Regions from separate parts of the Homo sapiens genome. Here region 2 is linked to region 1. The links are contacts of gene promoters, found by promoter capture Hi-C in human tissues and cell types (Jung and others, 2019). All regions are on one chromosome and are shown on one strand. Each heading gives the region's core, a stretch centred on a gene start or on the middle of the fragment in contact. The rest is flanking DNA. Distances are from core to core; before and after follow the strand shown.

The links. The method cuts DNA at HindIII sites, captures the fragments that hold promoters and counts their contacts. A contact is called where the count stands out against the background at its distance.
Region 2: a contact is called between a fragment that was not itself captured here and the fragment with the promoter of SLC24A3 in region 1, in 2 of the 25 tissues and cell types used here (H1 embryonic stem cells and dorsolateral prefrontal cortex).

What each region holds. Positions count from the first base shown.
Region 1 is chr20:19,210,021-19,214,730 of GRCh38, forward strand. It overlaps SLC24A3 (solute carrier family 24 member 3), which reads left to right and starts at 2,622. Exons shown (of 17, transcript NM_020689.4): 1 at 2,622-2,964. The coding sequence starts at 2,823. LOC101929547 (a long non-coding RNA gene) reads right to left here and starts at 2,448. Exons shown (of 3, transcript XR_007067549.1): 1 at 1,609-2,448; 2 at 44-421. RefSeq lists a silencer at 2,973-3,022. The HindIII fragment of the contact is 12,474 bases long and covers 1-4,710 here.
Region 2 is chr20:19,370,726-19,375,435 of GRCh38, forward strand. The region is part of intron 2 of SLC24A3 (solute carrier family 24 member 3); the gene reads left to right. Among named protein-coding and RNA genes, the nearest start is that of SLC24A3-AS1, 88 kb to the left of the region's middle. The HindIII fragment of the contact is 3,946 bases long and covers 423-4,368 here.

The DNA.
Region 1 (4,710 bases), core at 1,372-3,871:
CCCAGAACCCAGCCCAAGGTGGGGAGGTGCTCTGTAAAGACACCTGTCTTATTCCTGAAAGGGTGAAGACCCCCACACATCTAGGAGTGATGCCTCTCTCTCCAGGAAAGAAATACTCTCAGACTGAAGTATCAGAGCACATTCTTCATTTCAACTCTTGCTCCTTTCACAGTTCGGTTTCTGGAGGGAGCTTCCAAAGACTGAAAGGGACAGGTAGGAAAAAAAATGACTGTTTTCTTTGGAGAGGAGCTCCTGAGGCCTGTCTCACTTGGCCATCACCTGGGGGGCTGAGGAACCTATCAGGTCTCAGTTGCTGTCAGCCTAGGGACCAGGATCCCCACCTTTCTTCCCTAGGTGGTGCCTGGCCGCCCAAGGAATCACTCTCTGTGCTTTACTTTAACAGTGCCCTTCACTCCAAAATCTGTCAAAATGAATAGAAACCCAAGAATCATTTCTGTGTGCCACAGGAGTGCTCTCCCCCGGCCCCCCCGCCCCACCCCGCCACACACACACACATACACTCCTGGTGCTGAGATAATTTCCAAGAAATTACCAGTTCCTGGTTATTCTCCTTCCTCCTGGCTCCCTTCCTAACTCCCCCTCCATCACCAGATTACACAATTCCTTGAGCCTATGGTATTTTCCCCTGGAGCTTGTGTTCATTTCCTAACTCAATTAATTCCAGATTCCCTCTCTCACCTTCTATTTTCCCTCGTTTTCACTAGAAAACACTATTTGAGTGACTTTCCTGGTTAGTTGAATTCTTCTCAGCTCCTAAACTTTCTTTTCTGTGTCTGCAAAAGCTTGATGGAGATAACACAACTAGAGAATTCTCCCCACACACTCCAGCACGGATGAACTCGTATTTTTACACCCTCCTTAGTATCTGCAGCCAAAGCAAAGGGAAAACCACTCAGGCATTGTGGGGGAGGTACTCTGAGTGTCTGGAAGATGCCAGGCTGAGAACAGCAGTCATAAATGATATACCCACAAAGGAAAAGTCTCTGGTCTCCCTGGGTGAGATGGCCTTTCTCTGGAAAGGAGGCCACCTATAACCACTTCCTTTGCCCTTTGCTGTGACCTTGCTGTCCCCGGGCGCTGTCAGGGATTGTCTGGGAGGAGGTCGGGGGGGGTAGGTCAGTCACAGGTGGGGACACATTTGAACAGACCTAGACAGGGGAGCCTTATACAGAGGTTCTCTGCTTCCTTCCCACCTCCTTAGGGTATGAAGCTAGATTCCCTGATCTGAATGGATTCCATGGAGACAGTCACCTAGACAGACACCTGGTTTCAGGTGATCCCTTTCTGGACAAGGTCTTTTGTTTTCAGCGCCCCCCCACCCTCCGCCCCAACAATGGCATCTCCTCCTCAGCCCAGCCAGCAGCCCCAGGCTAGCATCTGGGAAGAGTCCAGGGAAGCCCAATGAGGGAGAGTGGGCTGTGTCTGGGATGGCCAGGGATCCCCTCCAAATGGGCACCTGCGGCAGGTCGTGAGTCCAGCCATCTCTAGGGCAGCCCACACCTTCAGCAAGGAGGGGCAGGAGACCTAGAATGGGGGAAATGGGAGGACTAAGATTCTAACGTTGGAGGTAGGGCAGGCTGGTGTTACCTGCACAAGGCCAGAAGCCTCTTCAGGCCGCCTCTCCAGGGACCGTGCCAGCTGTCCCCACTTCGATCAGCCACAGTATTGGACTTGGTCCAGCACGAACAGAAAGCGAAGTGTGAGCCCAAGACAGAGGGGGGAGCCGGACACCCTTATGGAACTAACAGCCTCTGGGGAGGCCTGTTCCAGATCCCGAGTCGGGCGCACAGGGGGATCCCCGCAAGGGGGCAGAGGGAAACCCGGGAGGCCCGCGAGAAGAGGCGAGGCCAGAGGCTGGGCGCGGGCAGCCAAGCGCACTCGCGGCGCCCCGACTCCAGGTAGCACGTAGAGAGGAGGCTGAAGAGCCCCTCGGTTTTCCGAAAGTTTCCAGCGAATCCTTCTTGGTGAAGATCGGCCTCTGGGAGGCAGCGTGTGTGCTTCCCGAGAGGGGGCCCCCTGCGCCGTCCCTCTTCCCCTGGCACAGAAGGGTTGAAGGACTGCACACAGGGATCCCTCCCCAGCCCAGTCTCCTCCCAGCGCGCCCCCTCCCCGCCATGCCGGCCAGCGCCGGGCTGTGTCCCAGGCACTGCCCCCCGCCAACCCTGGCCCGACCAGCCTCGCCGCTGCAGGCTGCCGGGAGCTGCGCTAGCTCATGCTCCCAGCTCGCTCGGTGCTCCCTGTTCGCTCCGGCCCGGCCCCGGCCCCCATCGCGCCGACCATGGAATAGGCGGGCGGCCCCGCGAGGCGCTCCTGCAGCCGGCGAGGCCAGAGCCAGTCCGGGGTGGCTTTGCCAACCGGCGGAGTTGGCCAGCGGCGGGCCCTCCTACCGTCGGTCCTTCCCCGCTCCTCCTCCTCTGCCCCCTCCGCCCCCGCCTCCCGGCCGCCCCCGCCGCCCCCGCCGCGCCGCCGCCCCAGGCCGAGCGCGGGCGCGGAGCGTGGGAGCCATGGCGCGCGAGGAGGAGCGGGACCCCGAGCGCCGGGAGGCGGCGGCGCGGGCGAGCGGCGAGGAGGAGGAGGAGGGAGGGGAGGAGGGACTGGGCGATAGCGACGAGGAGGGCGACGACGAGGAGACGGGCAGCGGCGAGGAGGAGGAAGAGGAGGCGGAGGCGGCGGCCGGGTGGGAGCGCAGCGAGGACGCGCGGCTGCTGCGCGCAGGGCTGCCTCCTGCCGCTGTCCCCGCCGCGGCCGCCCGCGACAGGAGCGGCCGCCGCCCGCCGAGGCCGCCGCCCGGCCGCCCGAGGATGCGGCCGTCCGGCGACGAGGACCGCGCGCGTCGCCGCCGCCGCCGCCGCCGCCGGAGGGACCTTCTGCTGAGCCAGCTCTGCTTCCTGGCCTCGGTGGCGCTGCTGCTCTGGTCGCTGTCGAGCCTGCGAGAGCAGAAGGGTGAGTGCACGCTGCCTGCCCCGAGTGGGCGCTGCGGCTCCGGCGGCTCGGGGCTCCCGGGGCTGGGCGCGGGGCTCCTTCGGGCGGCCCGGCCGGAGCCCCAGGATAAGCGGGCTGGGTTGGCGGGGGGAGTGGGATGCCAGGCACGAGGACTCCCCCTGCCCCACGCAGAGGCATGGAGGTGGGGACCCTGAGCGCCAGCAGCCAGCAGGCTTAGGCGTCTGGCCGCCCTGGGAACATTTACCTGTGCCCGCCTGTGCGCTGCTTACTCGCGAGCTGGAGGTACTGCTGGTGGCGGTGGTGGGGAGTCTTACTCTCCATCAGCCCCCAAGGCCAGGGATAAAGTTGTGGTGGTAGACCCGGCACCTGTGCAGGTGACCACCTGTATACTCCTTGGCTTGCTGAAGGATTCAAGGGGACTGCTTAACACACAGTTGTCCGTATGTTCTCCATCCAGAGAGCAGGCGGGATGGCCCGAGTAGAGAGCTCTTCAACCCCCTTTCAGAACAGGTGCCGGGAACTTCAGGGAGAGAAAAAGTGTTGGCCCTCCAGCTATGGGCTAGTAGGGGACTTGTTCTCCTAAAATGACCACTCACTGGGAAGACAGGGAATTCTTCCTCAGAGGTCCCTTTTGCAGAGCTGCTGCTGTGGAAGAAATGGTTTGCAGTGGACCACGCATCACACTGTCCGCTCCTCTACCGGTGCTCTGCGCAAAGTCTGCCCTTTAACCCACAACTTTTGTCTTGTCTTTGTCCTTGGCCTTTCTTGAGCTGAAATAGATCTTGTGTGCTCCCAACAGTTGTCTGCTGAAACAGCTTCGATCCTGGGATTCAGCTGTCTATAAAATGAAGGAAAAACATGGGAGAATAACTGTTGTAAAATGGTTTTATATCCCGGCCGTGGAAGTGGCACGATTAGTGGGAAAACAGCCATGTAAAGGGTTGTGAGAAAGAAACAAAACAAAACAAAACAAACAAACAAAAAAACAGTTACAAGTATGTGCTGTGGTGTTGAGGTCGACGTAGCTCTAATGCAAGATGTCATGAGGTGCAGAATAAAGACATTTTGATAGTCACCGTAAAATATTTTCAAAGGTGCCATGAATTTAAAAAGGGATCTCCCCCAGCTTGGCTGGTCTCCTGCTTGGTGGGGAAGTGAAACAGGCGTCAGTCTTCATTCAGTCTTAGCAGACCGCTTGACAGACTTCATCATTTATGGTAATAGCAGAGAGTCCGTCTTGGTCTTCAGTGAAGCTGTTCAAGACTCCACGGCTCTCTCCATTGCTCTCCTGGATCTCAGATCCCGTAGCCTTGGGTTCTGACATCAGGAAGGGGGCCGTGCCGGTGTGAGGGAAGCAGAATCTCTCCCAGGGCAGATTCACATCTGCCAGACTTCTGTCTACTGACAGTCTCACTAAGGGGGTTTTCCCGAATCCCATTTTTATTTTCCTTTTTTATTTTTCTCCAGTGAAAAACCAGTTTATAGTTCATGCCACCTTTGGAAAGGGCTATTCCTAGTGGATTACACGCTGGCCATTTTTTTCTGGTATGTTGGGGCTCTATGAGACATAGAGTTCCCACCACTTTCAAGAATATAAAAGACATTTTTTTCTGGGTGAAGGATGTGACTCATATAGTTAAGTCAATCAGTGACAGGGGGCTGCCTGGGCCCTGAAAAGCTGGGATTTGGGAGGAGAGGAGGCCAGACACTCTGCAAACTTGAAACCTGGGGACTGGAATGTCATTT
Region 2 (4,710 bases), core at 1,146-3,645, 160 kb after region 1:
TAGGAGGTTTGAGCACATTGTCAGGTCTTTCAACTGAGGACTAGAGTTCAGGCCAAGGAAACAGGTTGAAGACTTCATCATGGGAGTTCTCACAGTATTGTGGCTCTGGTTGCTCAAGGAAAGAAACACAACTCTCTGGTTAGACCGGCTCTGGGCTGTCAGCAGCCTGGTGGGTCCCGGTGGTGGTTCTCATCCTTTAGTGTAATATTTTGATCCTCATTGGAAGATGATGAAATGGAGGATCAGAGATTTTAACTCACTAGAACCTGAGCTTTCTTTTCTCTTTTCCAGGGCTCTTGCCTGTCTTGGTGTGGGTCTTCCCAGAAGCAGCTCCTGAGCAAGGATTTGGGTGCAGTGCATCCCTCTGGGAGGTGAATGAGGACAGGAGCTCTGGGGGCAACTGGGCTGAAGTTTGTCCTCCATGGGATTCTGGAAAGCAGTGTAGAACAGGCACCTCAGCATTTCCTCCCCAATAGGGGAGGGAGCAGGGTACATATAGGCCAACTGGGAGGTAGGGGAGGATGCTAATTCCAGGCACTTCTGTCCATCACTCATTTCAGCAAAGAGATACTAATGTCTGTGTGTGAGAGTGGAGAGGGCAGGCCCTGGGAGGGTAAAGGCCCAGGAGGTCTGGGGATCACCGAGCAGTCTGCTCTGCCACTGTTTAGGTGTAGGCCCTGTGGTGTGGAACAGCTGGGAGCACTGAGAAGGAAATGAGCAAAGCATTATGGACAAGACCCCAAGCCTGGCCTTGGACTAGGATCACACTGCCTGGGAACCAGTGGCTGGGAATACGCAGTTAGTTTTCTAGCTAGTTCCTGAAAAAGGGATTTGGGTCCCCCAGGTTCCTACCATTGGTAATAAACCCCACCACCCCCTACATACAGGGACAAAATCCCCACACTCTCCATATGGCGGAAAGCTTTTGGCTGTCCATGTTTTTTAGTGGTATATTTCCCTACCTTTTTTGGGGTGGGACCCCAGACCCAGTTCTAATCTCATATCTGGACCACCTGGCCATGTGAAGCTGAGGAAAGTCCTTAGACTCCCTGTATTCTGCAGCGTACAGGTCTATTCAAACCTACCCCAGAGTCTGAGGAAGCTGATAAGCTATGTAAAAAGGCTGGCATACGGATATGGATCCATATCTCAGGTGGGTATGCCAGCCTTTTCTTCAGCCCATCAGCTTCCTCAGACTTCTCTGTGGAAGTCATGTCTGTGTCTCAGGCAGCAGTGAGGCAAGATGGTAAATCCCTATGCCATCATCCCCAGACCAGACCCAGGGCTTCTATATCATAGAGAAAAAGTATACATGCCTTGGAAGGGATGTGTAGGACAATTGCTTAAGGGCAGGATTTATGGTAAGGACATGCTCTTACACAAGGAACAGTAAATAAACTGGAAACCTTAGAACTGTGGTTGCTTAGAAGTCAACATGGTGGATTTTCATCCAAGATGGAGTTGCTTTAGCTTCCATACCTTTGGTCCAGAATTCCTCATGTGCTATATCTGTATTTGTTTGGAATCTTCTAACTCAGGGAAAGAAGCAGAAGTTGAGGGAAGGCAGGAATGAATATAAAGAGACCATAAAGGAATCATTTCAAGACAAGTGAAGCCTCATGAGGTACACAAGAAAGACAGGAACATCCACAGCTCACTGATGCTCTCACTTAGCATCTGGCTCAGCCACACCCACTTTCTGAGGGTAAGGGATGCTCTTGCAGGACAAAGAGCAAATTGAAAAACAGGAGAAAATGGTTCATGCGGGAATAAAGGCTGTGACCTTGACCTTATTAGCACTATCTGGGAGCAGGCTCAGTGTGTCGTTCAATTGCTTCCTATGAAAATGGTGAAACAGAAAAAGGAACAAATCAACAAACAGACTAACCAAACCTTGGAGAAGCTTCCTATGTGTTTACTAAGAATCAAATCCTGCTGGAGTGAGAAAACTGGGATTCCTTTGGCCAAGCCCTGCTGGTCACCTTAGTTATGAAGAGTGATGGAGCGGGAGGAAAGGGTCCCCAGGGAAAAACAGAAAACACAGGAAAATGCCCGGCTTTCCCTCCCCGAGCTCAGCACCACTGAGCAAAGGACACCGGTACAACCAGCACATTTCATCCTTCTCTGTGGCGGCCAGAATTACAGATTTAATCAGGTGGCATCAGAAGGCAAATATATGGACCTGTCTAATGGAAAGTTCTTCTGATCCACAGTTTCCTGTGGTGGCCCCAGGGCTGGATGGGACCAAAAGTGAAATGAATTGCACAGAAAGACTCATGCCTAACTTAGTTACCAAAAGAGAAATAAAGAAAGAAAGAAATTCTTTAGTTTTGCGATTTTTTTTTTTGGCCCATTTTTATTAAGGAGAGATCCTGGCAATGTCCTCTGTCCAGGGGCTTGCAGGTGGGATCCTGTGCCTGTCTCACTTTGTCTATTCACACCGAAGCTTTTAGGTCTGGTTTTTGTTTGTTGCTGGTGTTTAGTTCCTGAGAGATGATCCGATTTCTGCAACCTAAATTTTCCTTCAGCAGACCCCAGGGGAAATCAAGGCCTCTCTCGGAGGCCCTTCCTTGTCCTGCCCAGGTCCAGCCCCATGGTCACCTCCTCTGCAAAGGCAGAGCCTTGGAATGGTCTGACGTCAGGGTGGGAAGTTCTTATGGTCAGGGAGACCTGGTGGAACATTCGAGAACCCTTTTCTCTACCTTTTGGAGGTCAGAGCTGCCCACATGCTGCCTGAGCACTCAGCAGGCAGATCCTTGCCATCTCCATGCCTTTTTCAAGGATGTTTTTGTCTGGGATGATTCCTAACTCTTGAGGGACACTGAGCCCATGGAGGATCTAATTATAGTGGCTATAGATTTTGCCACTATATATATAGATTTATATATTCTGACTTAGATTTTGCACATATTTTGAGGACAGTCTAGCCCACCCTATAGATTCTTAGTTCCTGGATCCTAAGTTACGGAGATTTTGTCCAGACTGATGTAGGTGAGGGGAGAAATTTAGTGGAGGAGGAGCTTCAGCTGCTGCTATCCATCATTTTCCTGGAGTGGGTGGGCTTCTGAATTTGGAGGCATCTACTAAGAGCATGACATGTTTTTAAGCCAAAACGAAATGAAGCTGAGATCAGCGGTGGGAGCAGGGTGGGCAGGGAGGAGTGTGTGTCTATCTACGAACCCTAGATCCCTGGTAGGTTAATCACAGCTTCTTTCAGGTTTTCCTTGAATGGGTTGAATAACTGGATGAAGGATTCCTTATCCAAGTAGTTGTCACTTGGCCACTAATGTCCATTTTTCACAGCATCATTTTGTAACGTAGCATAGGTACTTGAATGCCAAATGCCTTTGCTTGAGATCCGGTAAAGAAAGAGCCTCAGATCGGGGAAGCATAGAGGAATGGTTTATCCTGTGGTCTAAGGGCAAAGCAAGGAATTTCCATCATGTTTCAAAAATGGGAAAGTTTCCCAGTTCCTCTGCTTACCTGACCCTTAGATATAACTCAAATATCACCACCATCTCAGTGACAGGGTGGGCCGTCACTCCTCCACATGCTCAAGTTGCCATTTCTTTCTGGTCTTGCATGAGTAACCATAACCCTGTTAAAATGACAAATGTTTTCCCTGAGCTGGGACACCGGTGAAGCAGGCTGGATTTGTGCCCCTGAAAATTAGGCAGCCTGCCCGCTAAGTGCTCAGATGAGCAGAATACTGACTGTTGAATGAGCCTCCCCTTTGCTGCTCAATTATAAGACATGGGGAGACTAAGCCTGCACACCTTTTCTATCTCTCCTGGAGTTCTGGGCACTGGTGGGCTCCCACCCTTCCCTGTGAGTTTATGGTTTAACAGCCCTTTGTAATATGCACTGTCCTTTCACAGCATTACCTGACTTGATTCTCACCCCAAGCCTGTGGGGTAGGCATGAAGGCACTCTTTTCTCAATGTGAAGCTCAGGTATGGGTCAGAGAAGTTAAAGGATATGTCTGAATCACAGCTCTGATCAGCAGCAGAACATGGATTCATAGGCTCTCATGGCCCTGATCATATTCTTCACCCATTCTTATCAGGGCATCTGCATTCTTTTGTCAAAGGCCTCTCTCTGGCCTCCTAAGTGTAGCTTGCCAGCCTTTATGGTAGACCAGAAGTCAGAGGAATGAATGCTTTCTGGAGCCACCCATAGCCGATGATGGGAGTTGGTGTATAAATACCCCAGCTCCCTTACCCCTTGGGCAAGGTAACACTGAGTCTGTGTTTTTATTTTTCCCAGAGTTTCTGCTAGTAGGAAGCCCCAGGTACACCCAGGGATAACTGATGCAACCACTCATGCCTCATTGGCTGGTGTCTCTTCCCAGTATCACCTCCTCACTCCCCAGCTGGCCCTGCTTCACCTCACAGATCAATCACCTGTACTGAAATCCTTGCCTCAGGGTTTGCTTCTGGGAGAACCTACACTATACCCCAGATTCCTGGGCACCAAATCCTGGCTTTTCTCATCTTCTCTCTGGGCGTAAAAGTTCGCCAGGCTCCTTAGGGAGAAGGCAGGCTATGTCCCGATGCTCAGAACACCCTGTCTCAATGCTGTGGTGCATAGAGTGTAGTTAAAGTTGATGGTTTTTATTTCTTTCTTTTACTCTGGGAGAAAGAAAACTCACTGGCCCTCCCTTATACACTCCATCATGAACCGCACGGATCAGCACTGTGTTTCTTATCA